4 separate regions of the Homo sapiens genome follow, and regions 2, 3 and 4 are each linked to region 1. The links are contacts of gene promoters, found by promoter capture Hi-C in blood cells and fetal thymus (Javierre and others, 2016). All regions are on one chromosome and are shown on one strand. The core of a region is centred on a gene start or on the middle of the fragment in contact, and the rest is flanking DNA. Distances in the headings are between cores, read along the strand shown. Region 1 holds the start of C14orf180 (chromosome 14 open reading frame 180). Region 2 overlaps TDRD9 (tudor domain containing 9). Region 3 overlaps TDRD9 (tudor domain containing 9). Region 4 overlaps TDRD9 (tudor domain containing 9).

The links. Contacts are between HindIII fragments. The CHiCAGO score rates a contact against its expected background, and 5 or more counts as called.
Region 2: a fragment that was not itself captured here is called in contact with the fragment with the promoter of C14orf180 in region 1 in 1 of 17 cell types (endothelial precursors); the score reaches 5.6 in endothelial precursors.
Region 3: a contact is called between a fragment that was not itself captured here and the fragment with the promoter of C14orf180 in region 1, in 5 of 17 cell types (activated CD4 T cells, endothelial precursors, naive CD8 T cells and 2 more). The highest score is 7.1, in activated CD4 T cells.
Region 4: a fragment that was not itself captured here is called in contact with the fragment with the promoter of C14orf180 in region 1 in 5 of 17 cell types (endothelial precursors, naive CD4 T cells, naive CD8 T cells and 2 more); the score reaches 6.9 in endothelial precursors.

What each region holds. Positions count from the first base shown.
Region 1 is chr14:104,577,937-104,581,422 of GRCh38, reverse strand. It overlaps C14orf180 (chromosome 14 open reading frame 180), which reads right to left and starts at 1,659. Exons shown (of 5, transcript NM_001008404.3): 1 at 1,420-1,659. The HindIII fragment of the contact is 16,067 bases long and covers 1-3,486 here.
Region 2 is chr14:103,991,897-103,995,382 of GRCh38, reverse strand. It overlaps TDRD9 (tudor domain containing 9), which reads right to left. Exons shown (of 36, transcript NM_153046.3): 10 at 997-1,051; 11 at 780-864. Among named protein-coding and RNA genes, the nearest start is that of RD3L, 51 kb to the right of the region's middle. The HindIII fragment of the contact is 3,607 bases long and covers 1-3,333 here.
Region 3 is chr14:104,017,306-104,020,791 of GRCh38, reverse strand. TDRD9 (tudor domain containing 9) reads right to left here. Exons shown (of 36, transcript NM_153046.3): 23 at 2,600-2,700. Among named protein-coding and RNA genes, the nearest start is that of ASPG, 67 kb to the left of the region's middle. RefSeq lists an enhancer at 2,696-3,486. The HindIII fragment of the contact is 934 bases long and covers 1,032-1,965 here.
Region 4 is chr14:104,034,137-104,037,622 of GRCh38, reverse strand. It overlaps TDRD9 (tudor domain containing 9), which reads right to left. Exons shown (of 36, transcript NM_153046.3): 32 at 2,567-2,663. Among named protein-coding and RNA genes, the nearest start is that of ASPG, 50 kb to the left of the region's middle. The HindIII fragment of the contact is 1,480 bases long and covers 894-2,373 here.

The sequences.
Region 1 (3,486 bases), core at 410-2,909:
AGCCCGGTCCATGGGGAGGCCGTCAACCACGGGCTTGGTGGCCCCAGGAGGAGCTGGGCCTCCTCAGTCTCCCAGCACCTTAGTAGTTTGGCCACAGGCCTAACCCAATGGCCCTGGGGCTGCAGATGCAGGTTGTGCCTTCTTCCGGTGGAAGAAGACTGGGACCATGGACACTGCCTCGCTGGCCTTTCCTCTGCAGGGCGGAGGCAGAACACAGCCAGGCGGGGTGGCTGGGCTCCTGGGAAAAGCCTTGGCTCCCAGCCCAACGCTCACCACTGGAACCACGCTGGCAGCTCCCCAGACAACATGCGTTCTCGACTTAAGTAAGAGGGAGAACTTGTGGGGAGGCCCCTGGCTGGGCTGACCGCCCACTGGGCTTGCTCAGGTGCCTGCAGGCCCTACCAGGTAGGAACAGGAGCAGGAGCTGCCTGGTGGCCCCCTGAGGCCCCTCTCCATGCCTAGATGGGCCCTCACATCCCGAGGTGCAGTTAGGGCTCGAGGTAGCAGCAGTACCGGGTGATGGCTGCTCATCTGCTGGGTGCAGGGGCCACCCTAGGCCTCGAGAGCTCCAGACAGACAGGGCGGGGGACCCCCCCAGGCCCTTCCTCCCATATGTGGAATGGGGGCTGTTTGCCAACTGTCCAGGGCACTGCAAAGCTCAGTAGTGCCCAAGAAATGGCGTGGCGTCCAGTGCTGGGTGGGGGTCCCATGGCCACACAGGGCAGGACAGGGATTCCTTCTGACTGACGGCTCAGAAAAGAGCCAGTTCTCAGGGATTCCCAAACACTGAGAACTAGGCTTCAGTTACTGGAGTAACGAATCCATTCCTGCTAGGCTGGGCCTGCGTAGACTTGCCCTCGGAGGATGCCCCCCACCAAGGCCCTTCAGGGAAGGCTGGCTGGGTTCATGCCTGGCACGGCTGCCTGCATTCCCCTGAGAGTGCAGCCCCTTCTCCCACTGCCCAGGCTGTTTCGCGCAACATCAGGTGCCCTTTGGAAGCTCCTGTGTGGCCAGGAGCACCCCCGCTGCTAAGTTTGAAGTGGCCGTGTTCCCTGCTTCCCCCAGAGGCGGCCTGGCCTCAGTGTGGACACAGGGCCGGCCTGGGACTGTCTCCGTTTTAGGGAAACCATCAGTCCCAGGAGAAGGGGGAAGGGTGGCCACTCTGGAGCTTGTTCAGGTCACTCAGGATCATCAGTGTGTGCTCTGCCCAGTCTCTGCCCACACCTGCTGCCCAGCTGGGGCAGGTTCCCCACCTGCACCTGCCTTTGGCAATCTCTCCGCTCTGCCCAGTCTCTGCCCACACCTGCTGCCCAGCTGGGGCAGGTTCCCCACCTGCACCTGCCTTTGGCAATCTCTCCGCTCTGGCATCTTCATACCCAAGCAGGAAGTGAGCCCCCTCTCCCTGGGGCTGGAACTCACCTGGTTCCCTCCTGGCTCCCCGAGGGACAGAAACAGGCTCTTCGGGATCTCCCTGTGGGGCACAGTCCAGTGAGGTCCTGGACCCTCTTGGCCGGCAGCACCCCTCCCAGGCCCTTGAGAGTTGAGCCTCGGGCAGAACTGCAGGGCACACAGGTGAACGGGCCAGGCCCGCCCAGGCCTCCTTCCCGAGGGCTCTGATCTGGAGGCGCCACCGCCCGCTGGCAGGGCCGGGTCTGTTGTGGCCTTCGTCCCGTCTCCAGCCCTCTCTGCTGGATCGCAAAGCTGGGCCAGCTGGCAGCGGCCAGGCTATAATTACCTCTCCCCTTTGGCAGAAATAGCAGTGAACCCGAGGACAGGCCGCTGGCCCCGGAGCAGAAGGGGGTGGCTGTTTCCCAGGCCCCCGGTGGACAACAGACCATGATTTCAGATAAGACCAGAGTTTGCTGCTGTTCCTACCCCTCCCGGCCCAAATGTGCCCCCTCCCAGGTCAATTCCAGAGCTGTGCAGCTCTTGGAAAAACCTATGGATTGGAATTCGGGGCAGAGTGGGAGAGGGAGGGCACTGTGGGGCTGCGGGAGGTGAGGTGATCACAGAGTCCAGCCTCCAATAAGACCCTGACCCAGCATGGGGCCTCCGTGGTGGCGAGAGTGCCCGCCCTGCCCCAGGCCCCTGTGCCCCTGTGAGTCCTGACCTGGGGTTGCCAGAGGGAGAGGCAAAGAATGGGTCCCAAGCTGCCGTTTTGGGGCACACTGGCCGACCCTCGATATTGCCCTGGCAGGAAGGGGCAATGTATGGGTCAGTGAGCGATGGCAGGGGTGAGGGATCAGCCTTTCTCAGGGTCTGTCCTGGGTGGGCGTCCAACTGCCCTGCCTGGCGCTGCTGAGTCTGCCCCTCATTTGTAGGTGAAAGTGCAGCTCAGAGAGTTGAGGCACCCTGTCCAGAGTCACACAGCCCGGAGGTGGTAGCCTGGCTCAGGCTTGGTGGCCCGTCCTCGCCAGCCCCCCCGTCTGCTGGTGCATGTAAAGGCAGGTCTGAAAGAGGCTGGTGAGGGCATCACTGGCGCAGGGCACCACCACATGTGGGCAGACCCCTGCCTGGTTTGTGGGGCTTTGACCTGTTTCAGGGGACTGCTGGAGGAGGTGTGGAGAGACCCGTGTTTCTCCATTAGGAATGGGGGTGCATCTCCCTTGGGTAAAGCTACAGGACCCCTGGGAGCCCAGGGTGTGCCAGGCTGGGGGACAGTGTGCACAGAGGGTGACTGCTCAGGGCCAGCCGTGGGGCTGCATGGACACAGAGTCCTGGAACCCACCGTCAGAGCATGAGCAACGCAGCCACTGGGATGGGGTTCAGCAGACCGGCCCTCCCCTCACTGCCGTCTTCAGTACAGGGCATGGGGGAGCAAACTTTTCTCTTACAGGGCCATATGGCACACAGTGCGCTCTGTGTCTACACAAACGGGGTGGGCCAGATTGGCAGGAGGGCCTTGGCTCGCTGACGCTTGTTCCAGGGAGAGCACTGAGGAAGGCTGGGTGGTCCTGCTGGCAGTCTGGCTTCCTGGGAAGAGTGAGGTCCTGTAGCCAGACAAGACCCTCTCCCGCCTGTGCCCAATCTGGGCGCTTATCCTTGGCTTCCCAGGGCTGGAGCTGCTCCTCCCAGATTTCAGAGGTCAGGCTGCACTGCCCGAGGTCGGGGGGCTCCGGGACAACTCCTTCCTGACCCTTCTCATTGACAGAGGGGAGGGAACGGTCAGCCCACAGACCTTGGGTGCCGCCCCCTCTCTGTGCTCCCTGGAAAGGCGATGCGGGCTGACCCTGTGGACATTCGCTCTGGGTAATTTATTAGTGAGCTGATGGCTCGGCTCAGGGCTCAGGTCCCAGCGGGGTCATATTTCCGGCCGTATCTGATAGGGCTCGGCTGCACCCTCCTCGCCTCCGTCCATTGCGCCTCACTCCAGCCTGGGCTCTGCAGGGCAAGATAAGGCTGGCCCAGGGGAGTGCTGAGCTGCCGGGTCCGCGGAGGGTCCCCAGTGCCTGTGCCAGGCAGTGCCAGGGAAGAGCCCAGTTGTGT
Region 2 (3,486 bases), core at 281-2,780, 590 kb after region 1:
CCCAAGGCTGCTCCTAGAGATTCCAAAGCAATCAAGGGGGGCGACGTTGTCAACTCAGGCCCCCTGATCACCTCAAGCAGCTCTAGAAGGGTCTTGTTAAAACAACTCCATCATTCACACATAATCTGAGATAAAGAAATCCTCCTGAAGCAGGACCTAGAATATGGCTTCTAACCAGAGTCACCAGAGTGGTTTCAAGGACACGAGAACAGTCCCAAAGTTAAAGAAATGCTAAAGAAGAATTAAAAGGCACCAGAATTCCTGAATTGAGAAAACAAAAAATCTTAGCTTTTTAGCAAACTGATTTACAAAATAAAACACAAAACTAAACAACATACCTGGCTCATTAGGTAAATATTTGTTTAAGTGAGTAACCACTAACTACAGAACACACTGCTGAAATGTGATTTTTTTTTCTTTTTTTTTTTTGTTTTGAGACAGTCTTGTTCTGTCACCCAGGCTGGAGTGCACCAGTGTGATCTCGGGTCACTGCAGCCTCCACCTCCCAGGCACAAGTCTCCCACCTCAGCCTCCCAAGTAGCTGGGACTACAGGTGCATGCCACTGCACTCAGGTAATTTTTATATTTTTTGTAGAGATGGGGTTTCGCCATGAGGCTGGTCTCAAATTCCTGAGCTCAAATGATTCACCCACCTCAGCCTCTCACAGTGCTGGAAACACACGCATGAGCCACGACACCCAGAAAATATTTTTCATGAGTAGAGTCTCTAAGGAAAATTTACCTAAAGTGCTTAGAACTTGTCTTCCCAGTTTTCCTACCTTTCTGTACCCAGGGACTGGACTTAAAAAGACATTATTCTGTTCTTCTAAAGCCACACTTGAATGGAGTGGATAGACCTGCAACCTAAGAAATTACTAAAATAAAATCTCCATAAAGAATAGATATACATGAGATACAAAAATAAATACTGAGATAATTTAAGGCAGAAACAATGCAATGGCTTAGAAGAATACAGCTGTATCATTTTCAACATACCTTTTATGAACCAGGCTTGTGAGAAGTTCATGCATATAATTTATTTCACCCAGACCTAGGGAAGAAAAAAGTGGAGGAGGGAAATAAACATGTTTGTATTTACTGCTAGAAACCAACCTTTAAATTAAAATGGCATATCTTTCAAAGAAGGCCCTACCAATTTATTTGACTTCTTTATCCTCTTTGCCTAAATATGCCAGAAACACAAGTAAAAGTACACAGTGACATTGATTAGTAGTAACTCAAAAATATAGGGAAAAACCCTATTATTCCAGTTTTCCTTTACACAGCAGTGACTCCCTGTGGGTGTTAGCTATATGAGTAATTTTTGTATTCCTTTTTTACCCCCAGATTTTCTAAATTTTCTATAATGAGCATGCAAAATCTTTACAATCAAAAAATAACATTTGTAAAGTTTTGGTCATGAGGATGTGCTAAACCATTTCCATCAGGCCTCCGTCCTGTTTGCTGAAAGCTAAGCTAGCAGGTGCTTTTGCCTCATCCTGATTCTCAAATCTGAGTCTGTTATGGGTTGAACTGTGTCCCCTAAAAAGACGTATTGAAGTCCTAACCCCAGAATGCGGAAGGTGGTGTTATTTGGAAATAGAGTCATTGCAGATGTAATTAGTTAAGATGAAGTTATACTGGAATGGGGTGAGCCCTTAATCCAAAATGACTGGTATCCATACAAGAAGGGAAGAGGCACAAACAGAGAATGCCATGTGACAACAGAGACAGGAGTGATGTAGCCACAGGTCAAGGAGCACTAGGGACTGACGGCCACTACCAGGAGCTGGAAAGAGGAAGAGGCTCAGAAAGAGCATGGCCCTGCTGACAACTCGATTTTGAACATCTAGCCTCCAAAACAGGGAGAGAATAAATGACTGTTCTTTTAAGGCATTTAGCTTGTGGCACTTTGTTACAGCAGTCCTGGAAAACTACTATAGAACTGTTCACAAAAGATCAATTGACACATAAACATCTATCAAACTTGAATTCACATGAACATATTAAAAGGACAGTAACCCTAAATGTAAAATATCACTTATAAATATTTTCTTCAGGCAATGTTTAGCAGGTAAAAAGTATTTACCAGCCAGGAGCAGTGGCTCACACCTGCAATCCCAACACTTTGGGAGGCTGAGGCAGGTGGATCACTTCATGGAGATCACTTGAGCCTAGCAGTTCGAGACTAGCCTGTGCAAGCTAGTTAAACCGTCTCCACAAAAAGATACCAAAAAAAAAAAAATTTGGCCAGGCATGGGGGTGCATGCCTGCAGTCCCAGCTACTTGGGAGGCTGAGGTGGAAATATCACTTCAGCCCAGAAGGTAGAGGCTGCAGTGATCGGGGTCACACCACTGTACTCCAGCCTGGGGAACACAGCAAGACCCTTTCTTAAAAAATAAATAAAATAGAGTATTTATCTCATGTTAGGTATTCTTTTTTTTTTTTTTTTTTTTTGAGATGGAGTCTCGCTCTTTCTCCCAGGCTGGAGTGCAGTGGCGTGATCTCGGCTCACTGCAAGCTCCGCCTCCCAGGTTCATGCCATTCTCCTGCCTCAGCCTTCCGAATAGCTGGGACCACAGGTGCCCGCCACCATGCCCGGCTAATTTTTTTTGTATTTTCAGTAAAGATGAGGTTTCACCATGTTAGCCAGGATGGTCTCGATCTCCTGACCTCGTGATCCACCCACCTCAGCCTCCCAAAGTGCTGGGATTCCAGGCATGAGCCCCCACGCCCGTCCGTGTTAGGTGTTCTTAAGCCTCGGCCTCCCAAAGTGCTGGGATTCCAGGCGTGAGCACTGTGCCCGGCCCATGTTAGGTGTTCTTAAGCCAGTATCAACATGGCTCTACTTGGGTGATGTTTTCCCCTTAATACAATATGATGCACACAGAAGTCATCTGATAAATATTCACCAAGGCACATGCAACACCACCCCACTGTCAGCTCATGGTTGTTCCCTGCATGTAAACAAATCCTTATCAGCTAAGCAAAACATGACAAAAGTTTGAAACTCATATGTTGCATTCCAAAATTAAGTAAGCTACTTTCATTGCATGTTTTTCATTCTCCATTATTTTAAGAACAAATCTGTTTATGCTCTATATATTACAACAGAAAATATTTGAATTATTGTCATAATGTTTCATCAAGCTATACCACTTGAATTAAACATCAAGTAATTTTGAAAAAGTACAATTTAACATAAATTCATCTTTTCAGAAAGGTATTTTAAAAGTCTGTTTTCTCAAACACTGAGAAGGGAACTCAAGGATTACCCTGATGATTCTCACGGTGTTATAATAACAGTGTGTTTTACTATTACTAAATAAGCTTTCAATGCAAACTGATGACAGTTACCTCACATTTATAACGACATATGTAAAATGCAAATTTCACAAAGCCAAATATTTTACTGGAAATTTCGAAGGTGGCAAAACTGCCTTCAAAAAGCTGAACTCTAGACAAGCATGGTGGCGCGTGTCTGT
Region 3 (3,486 bases), core at 249-2,748, 560 kb after region 1:
CAGAGCCACAAAAACAGACCTGGGCCCCTTCCTCTACTATAAAAATCGTCCTGTAATGAGCTCTCTCCTGGAAATGTACACCTTGAGCAGTTTGGAAAGACGCCCAGCAGGGGAGGTGTGTGGAGCAGGTACATGAATCAACCCTGACCCGCTCCGCCTCCTCCGCTCTCCTTCACGCCCCATCCTCTTCACTCATAAATGCACGCATTTTCCTTCCACCCACTGCCTGATTCATGCCCTTCTGCTTTATCTCCCTTCTTTAGAGTCTCTCCTAAGACTCCGTAGAAGTAATTTTAAACTCCAGACCTCAGCGTCTTCTCCTCGAAGCTGCATCCTCCCCAGCATCCAGGCTGGAAAGCCGGATGCTCTTGGGCTCCTCTCACTTCTTTGCCCCCCACATGCAATCACCAGGCAAATCCAAGACATCCTCCTTCCCGTCTGTTGGCTCCTTTTCATGTCCAACAGCACCATACTGGCTGCACATCTCAGTACCTCTGCTTTGGACTACTGCAAAGACTCCAGGCCGGCTTCTACTCCTCTTACCTTGACCTTCCGCTTATCCCTGAGTAAGTTCCATAAAACACAGTTCCGGACAGACCACTCAAAGGTCTCCAAGTGCCCACCTAGTCATGTTCACACTCATCAGTCTGCCAGAAGACTGTCTCAAAGTCAGCACCTGACCTCCACAAAACAGACTCCATCTGACACGGAGCAGCTCTGCCCAAACGGCTACCAGCTATGTGTGCACAGTCTCAGCTTTCCCCTGTCAAGATCAGCTAATGACTGCCTCCTGCTGGAAAACCACCTGACCCTACTGCACCACCTCTGCACTGGCCACTGCACCAGCCCGAGGCCTCACAACCCTCCGACGTCTACCCGAGGAAGTCTCAAATTAATGTTACTGCTCTAATATTGGGCCTCAGATAGAATGTCTTCTTCTGACCTTCTAGGCCTTTCCCATGACATCTCACAGCAGGCAAATGTCTGTGAAACTAATTTGACTCTCCACTCCTACCACGAAGTTGAAAGCTTCTTATGGGAGAACATGATATGCCCAGGTACCACCTGTGCCCATCTGCCCATGCGCCCTTGGCACCTCACAGAGTCTACATGAAGTCACCCCTGCTCTATGCCAAAAGAAATACACTTCTTATTCTTTCAATCACTGTAACTTCCTTTGCCTTTAAATACTTGAATCCCAAGAACTGGTACTGGTACAGAAAGAATACTGTTACTTCCCCCAAAAAATTGGTATGACATTTGTATTATGACTTGAGAGCTGGAAATATGAGGAATGCAAAAGATATAAACACCTATAAAAAAGGTCCCAGGCAATGGGAGGCGGAGGTTGCAGTGAGCCGAGATTGTGCCACTGCACTCCAGCCTGATGACAGAGCAAGACTCTGTCTCAAAAATAAATAAATAAAAATAATAAAACAAAAAAAAGTCCCAGGCAAGAAGAACAGGCAACAAACACAGAACCCAATCCAGTTGTAAAGAAGAGGGAACAAAGATGCTGCAATCTTCTGGGAGCCAAGCCTTCTGACCACTCAAATCAGTCAAAGGAGCATCCATGCAGAACTGGAAGCTCACCCAGGTAAGCAGACGCACACTATTCAGGAATGAGTTTAGCTGTGTGATTCCAGCTTTAAGTAAGTTACTTTATATATGTGACTAAGAATCTTACTATAATTTACATCAGAATATTTAAGAAAAGTTCAGACACTACAAGTTTAATTAATTCTCTAAGAGTTGTTCAAAGCACTTAGGAAGGTTTTGCTTATTAGGGAGTTGTGTGTTTGCCTCATGAAGCATTTACAGGCCTACAAAGAAAATCAATATATTAATCATAGAAATGGAACTTAAAATGCCGGAGGGAATTACCCCAAATTGAAAATGGACTTAATGTTCAACTTGAGTGAACTGGACATTAAAGAAAAAGTGTTTGTTCTTATTTACAAAGCTTTGTAAAGTTAAATAAAAATTTATACAACATTCACAGAACACTGGAAAAAATTTCTAACTTTAAAAATTAAAAATCCTACTTTAGGCTTTTTGGTACATAAACATTTCCTGTTAGAAATAAAAACTCAGTGATGCTCCAAAACACACATTTGTTCCTTACATGCAGTAAGTAGAGCCAAATTGAGTTTTTACAATGTTTGCCTTCCAAAAATATTCAAAACATATCTGCTTTAGACAACTATAAGCAGATACACTCTATTTTGGATCACCTTCATGGCCCACAAAATAACTCTTACTAATGACTCACTGAGAAAATCTCAGACCAGTGCGTGAAAGTGAAGATCACTTTAAGAGAATCCGCCTTAGCATCACACTGAGTTACTGAGCCTTCTTGGAGTGACCATGCTTGACCACTAACCAGCAGCTTAGTTCCTTTAGGAGGTCACTTAGCAGAAAGAGAAGACAAATTGCTTCTGACCATAAGATAAACCAAAGCTACATTCTGAAAGCCAATTGCAGCAGCCCATAGGAGGACCCATTTCCATGGGCACTCCGTTTTAACAATCAGCGTCTGGAAACATTTGAATCATTATGCCTCCTTCATAATTGCAGTTGATTACAAAAATATACTTACTTTGCACCATCAAATACAATGGATTTGACTTGACCACACTGTCTAAAGAGAGACTGTAGTTGTTTATAGTAAAGAAATCCATAGGGAGGAATGTGTTTCAACTGTAAAATATAACACAAAATCAGAGCAGATTACTAGAGCTAACAAAATAGTTTCAACATTCACAAGCTCAAAGCTGCTGCACACTGTTTTAGTTTCTAAAAACATAGTTTACTATCTTTAACCATAATATATAAACTCTACAGATCAGTGCATTTAAAGACTTTTAAATTCTAACTAAGTTCTATAATAAATATGTTAAATAAAGGCTAATTCTAACCCTGTTAAAATGGTGTAAGTCTAATACAGCAAAATTAAGATTTGTTTACTTCTGTTTTCCCTTAAAATAATCAAGCTTACTAAATACTTCTTTTCAAAACATATTTCTACATAAGGAATAATGGGAATGTAAACTTTAAAGGAAAATGTCTAACTAATGAGAGGAATATGTATTTCCTCATCACCACAGTGGAAAGACCAAATAGCACATGATCAAATTGGCAGTGACTTTTAATGTATAAACTCTCAAGGTACCATGCTGGGTTTCTGCAAAGCACTCCATACTTTCTTCTGGACCAGGACAACTCCTGTGCCAGCGCAGCTCTGCACGGGGCTCCGTGACAGAAGGCATGTAAGTGAAGGCATGGGCTGGGGCTCAGATCCAGTTAGATCCTGTCTCCTCACTCCCTGAATCCGCGTGTCTCCTTAGGCAAGTTACAGAGTTACCCTGAGACCCAACTGCCACATCATGAAATAAGAATGACATGAGAAATCCCCAACTCAAAGGGTGGAGTGAGGCTCAGAGAAGAATGAAAAGTACCTAACACACAGCCTCTCAAGTGCTAAGT
Region 4 (3,486 bases), core at 384-2,883, 540 kb after region 1:
ATGAATGGGGCATAACACATATCTCCTTCCCCTTTTTAAATTGAAAATCAAGATAAAATTAAGTTTTCTGCTCATCTTCCTTTCCTGCCACTATTGTACAAAGAGTATGTTAGAGGTGGTAAAAAATTATCACTTAGTCGTAAAGTTGAATCAGTTGTGACAGGACAGTGACACATGTGGAGGGAGAACAGACTTTACCCAGAGACTGCAAGCTTCGCGTTTAACAAGGGGGGCCAGGACAGCCTCTAGTGCAGCAGCCAGACGCCACCCGAACAGGAGACGAGTCCCATGCGGGTGCGCATTAGAGAGGTGGCTCACAAAAGGAAGCAAACGGGCATGGGCGCATGGCGGGGCAGCGGCTCGCAGGAGCTGTGGGCTTTGGAGGACAGCTCCCCTCCGGAACACACCTAAGACACAGTGCTGGGACCCCTGGGCCAGTTCTGTACTGAAGACCCCCCTCCTGCTCGCTGCAGAAGACTGCATATTTAAAGTGAAAGGAAAGGAGAATGCTCATCCCAAATCAAACAGCTGTCATCTTTCAAAGTTTCTCAAAAACAGTTGTTACTCACTCAACAAATTAAAAAAAAAAAACTCCAACCTTAGAGACAGAGTGAGACCCTGTCTCAAAAAACAACAACAAAATAAAAAACAACAACAAAACCAAGCTTATACAACTACTCAGAGGCAGGCAGAGTTTGGAGGAAAATCAACCAGGCCCCCCTGCTACCTTTCCGATAATCACCTAGTTAAGCCTGTGGATTCAAAGACAACTAGTCTTACGCACACTGTCACATAAACCGTCCCAAATCTGGCACATTTCAGTTAATTCAACAAAATGAATATAATCAGCAAAGCACTGTGTATTGTTATATATAACCTTTTCCTATTAAGCTTGTGCTTTTTCTAGAAAGATGGTGTTTTAAATACCAAGTATGTCAGTATTTCTTGAATGTCTACAACCTAAACGCTTGCACTCTGGAGTTGTGAAAATAACACACTATATCATTCAAATCCTCAAAAGCTGGTGTTTAAAAGAGGTGAAGCAGGAGCTTTGTCTAGTTAAAAAGGCAAGCAGGGCGTCCAAAGTGCCATGAGAGGAAGGGACCTGCTTCTGCACTAGCCAAGCCTCAGGCCTGCAGGTGCACAGCGTGCTATTTGCTCATGAGATCATCCCACTGCCACGTGTGGTTCCTGCACATCTGTCTCCCCACCGAGGCTCCAAGACGCCTGAACTTACAGAGGGATTTACTGCATCATCATTGCAAAATTAGGTCACATTTCAACAATTAAAGGCATATTCAATCCTTTCAGACAAGAGCCGCTCAGAAACAAGTGCATGTATAATTAAAACAGGGCGGTATTTTTGTAAGCCATCATATGCCCATTCAGTGATATATGATACAATTATCAAAATGGATATTTACAAAGATATCATAATATGAAAAACCTGGTATTTGTGGGAAAAGAATACAGTATAACAAGAATCTTAAATAAAAATATGTATATACAAATTTAAAATAAGTATACTATTTAAATTTAAATCTATAAATTTAAAAATGTGTTAATTTTTCCCATTCAGCTTTTTCTAAGTAGCACATATTTTAATGAAAAAAATATTCTTACAACTAAAAAAAAAAGCACTACACATTTTGAGATTGCACTGTCAGATTCTGAACAAGTGTAATGGCAAAAAGGACTGAGTAAACGGTGGGGCCCTTCCACCTGCCTTGACTGAACTTAGCCCTCTAGGTCTATGGACCACCCCTCCATGCTCACCAGCTGACTAGAAAAGAAGAAAAGGGTAACTTTCCATGCCCCCGACTCTTGAAGTGCTACCAGGCCTCTACTGCAATCTCGTCATGGCCATTTCCATCCTGCCCAGCAGAATGTGAGTTCCTAAAGCCCAAATATTACTCCTTTTCTAGCCACCCCCACCCACTGCTCCACTAAAACCTATGTTAGTGCTTTCCCCACAGAGAATGCTCTGTCAATCCCTAGTCTGCAAACAAAACCTTACACGGCAGCAGCCCCCACTGTGAGGGTGCCTTTAAGAGCTCTGCTCATGGCATCACACACTCCTCTCTATCAAAGTCTCTGGGAGAAATCCTGGCTTAATCGTGGCATTAACAAGAGCTACAATCTGCTGGGCAATCTGCCTTCTGATGTCATGGTTACCACAAGAAGGGGGACTGACGGGTTCTTGTCGACAACTGGTCACCAGAAAACTTGGAATCACATTCACCACCCATTAACAATGGGATGTCCATCACCATGACATTTATTTTGAGCCTCATTCCTAGCTCCATTTTTAATTTATTTTACCCCTTTTTTGCCTCAAGCTCCTATGTGACACAGTGTGTACCTTTACAAGCTTTCTGAGCTTCTTTCAAAATCAGCCCAAGCATAAATAAATCAATAACAATACAGGCTTCACCCCAAGCAGCGAGACGTGCCATGGCTAGCTTCCATAAAGGCTTTCTTTCCAAAAGGAGCAAGGAGAGGCACCCGTTTTTTCCCGCCCAGGTTCTTATTTTACAAAGCCTATAGACAAGAGGGATGCCCGTACCTTAACTCTATCACCGGTGCGAATAACATGCTGAGGAGAGCCGGGAGGCCAGGGATATGAGGCATCAGAGAGGTTTCTCTCAGCAGCATCGTAGATCCTGTTCAAGTCATGCTAAATCAACATCGGGCATTAACTCACGCTGCTCAGGGCAGCGTTCCCTCCCGGCCCGCTCCTACTCATCTGCAGGTATCCCCTCCTCTGCTGAGTCTGTCCAGTCCCCACAGGCCCACCCCAATAGTAACGCACACTCCCTGTTCTCTGTTTCCACAGTACCCTACAGAGAGACACTACGCTATGATGCGTAAGCTTTTACCCCACTTGGGGATAACTCCTATTTGGTTACTCTTTGCATCTCTTTCCCCTAATCAGGCTATTGGATTTTTCCCAGGGCCAAGAGCTTGGATGTATTCTACTCTGTAGCCAAGCAGGGTGGAATGAATGAAAGATCCAGGAGTCAATTATTAATACTTCCCACATCCTTGTATAAAAGGAAAAGTGAGAATGCTCCACCGCGTAACCTCGCACCAGCCAAAGCAGTCAGAAAATGGCCTAAAAGAACAGCACGTAAGCTGGGCGCGGTGGCTCACGCCTGTAATCCCAGTACTTTGGGAGGCCAAGGCGGGTGGATCACGAGGTCAGGAGATCAAGACTATCCTGGCTAACACAGTGAAACCCCATCTCTACTAAAAATACAAAAAATTAGCCAGGCATGGTGGCAGGTGCTTGTAGTCCCAGCTACTCGGGAGGCTGAGGCAGGAGAATGGTGTGAACCCAGGAGGTGGAGCTTGCAGTGAGCCGAGATCGCGCCACTGCACTCTAGCCTGGGCGACAGAGCAAGACTCTGTCTCAAAAAAAAAAAAAAAGAAAAAAAAAGAATAGTACATAGTGTAGACTTGTTCACCAATTATAGGATAAGTTGT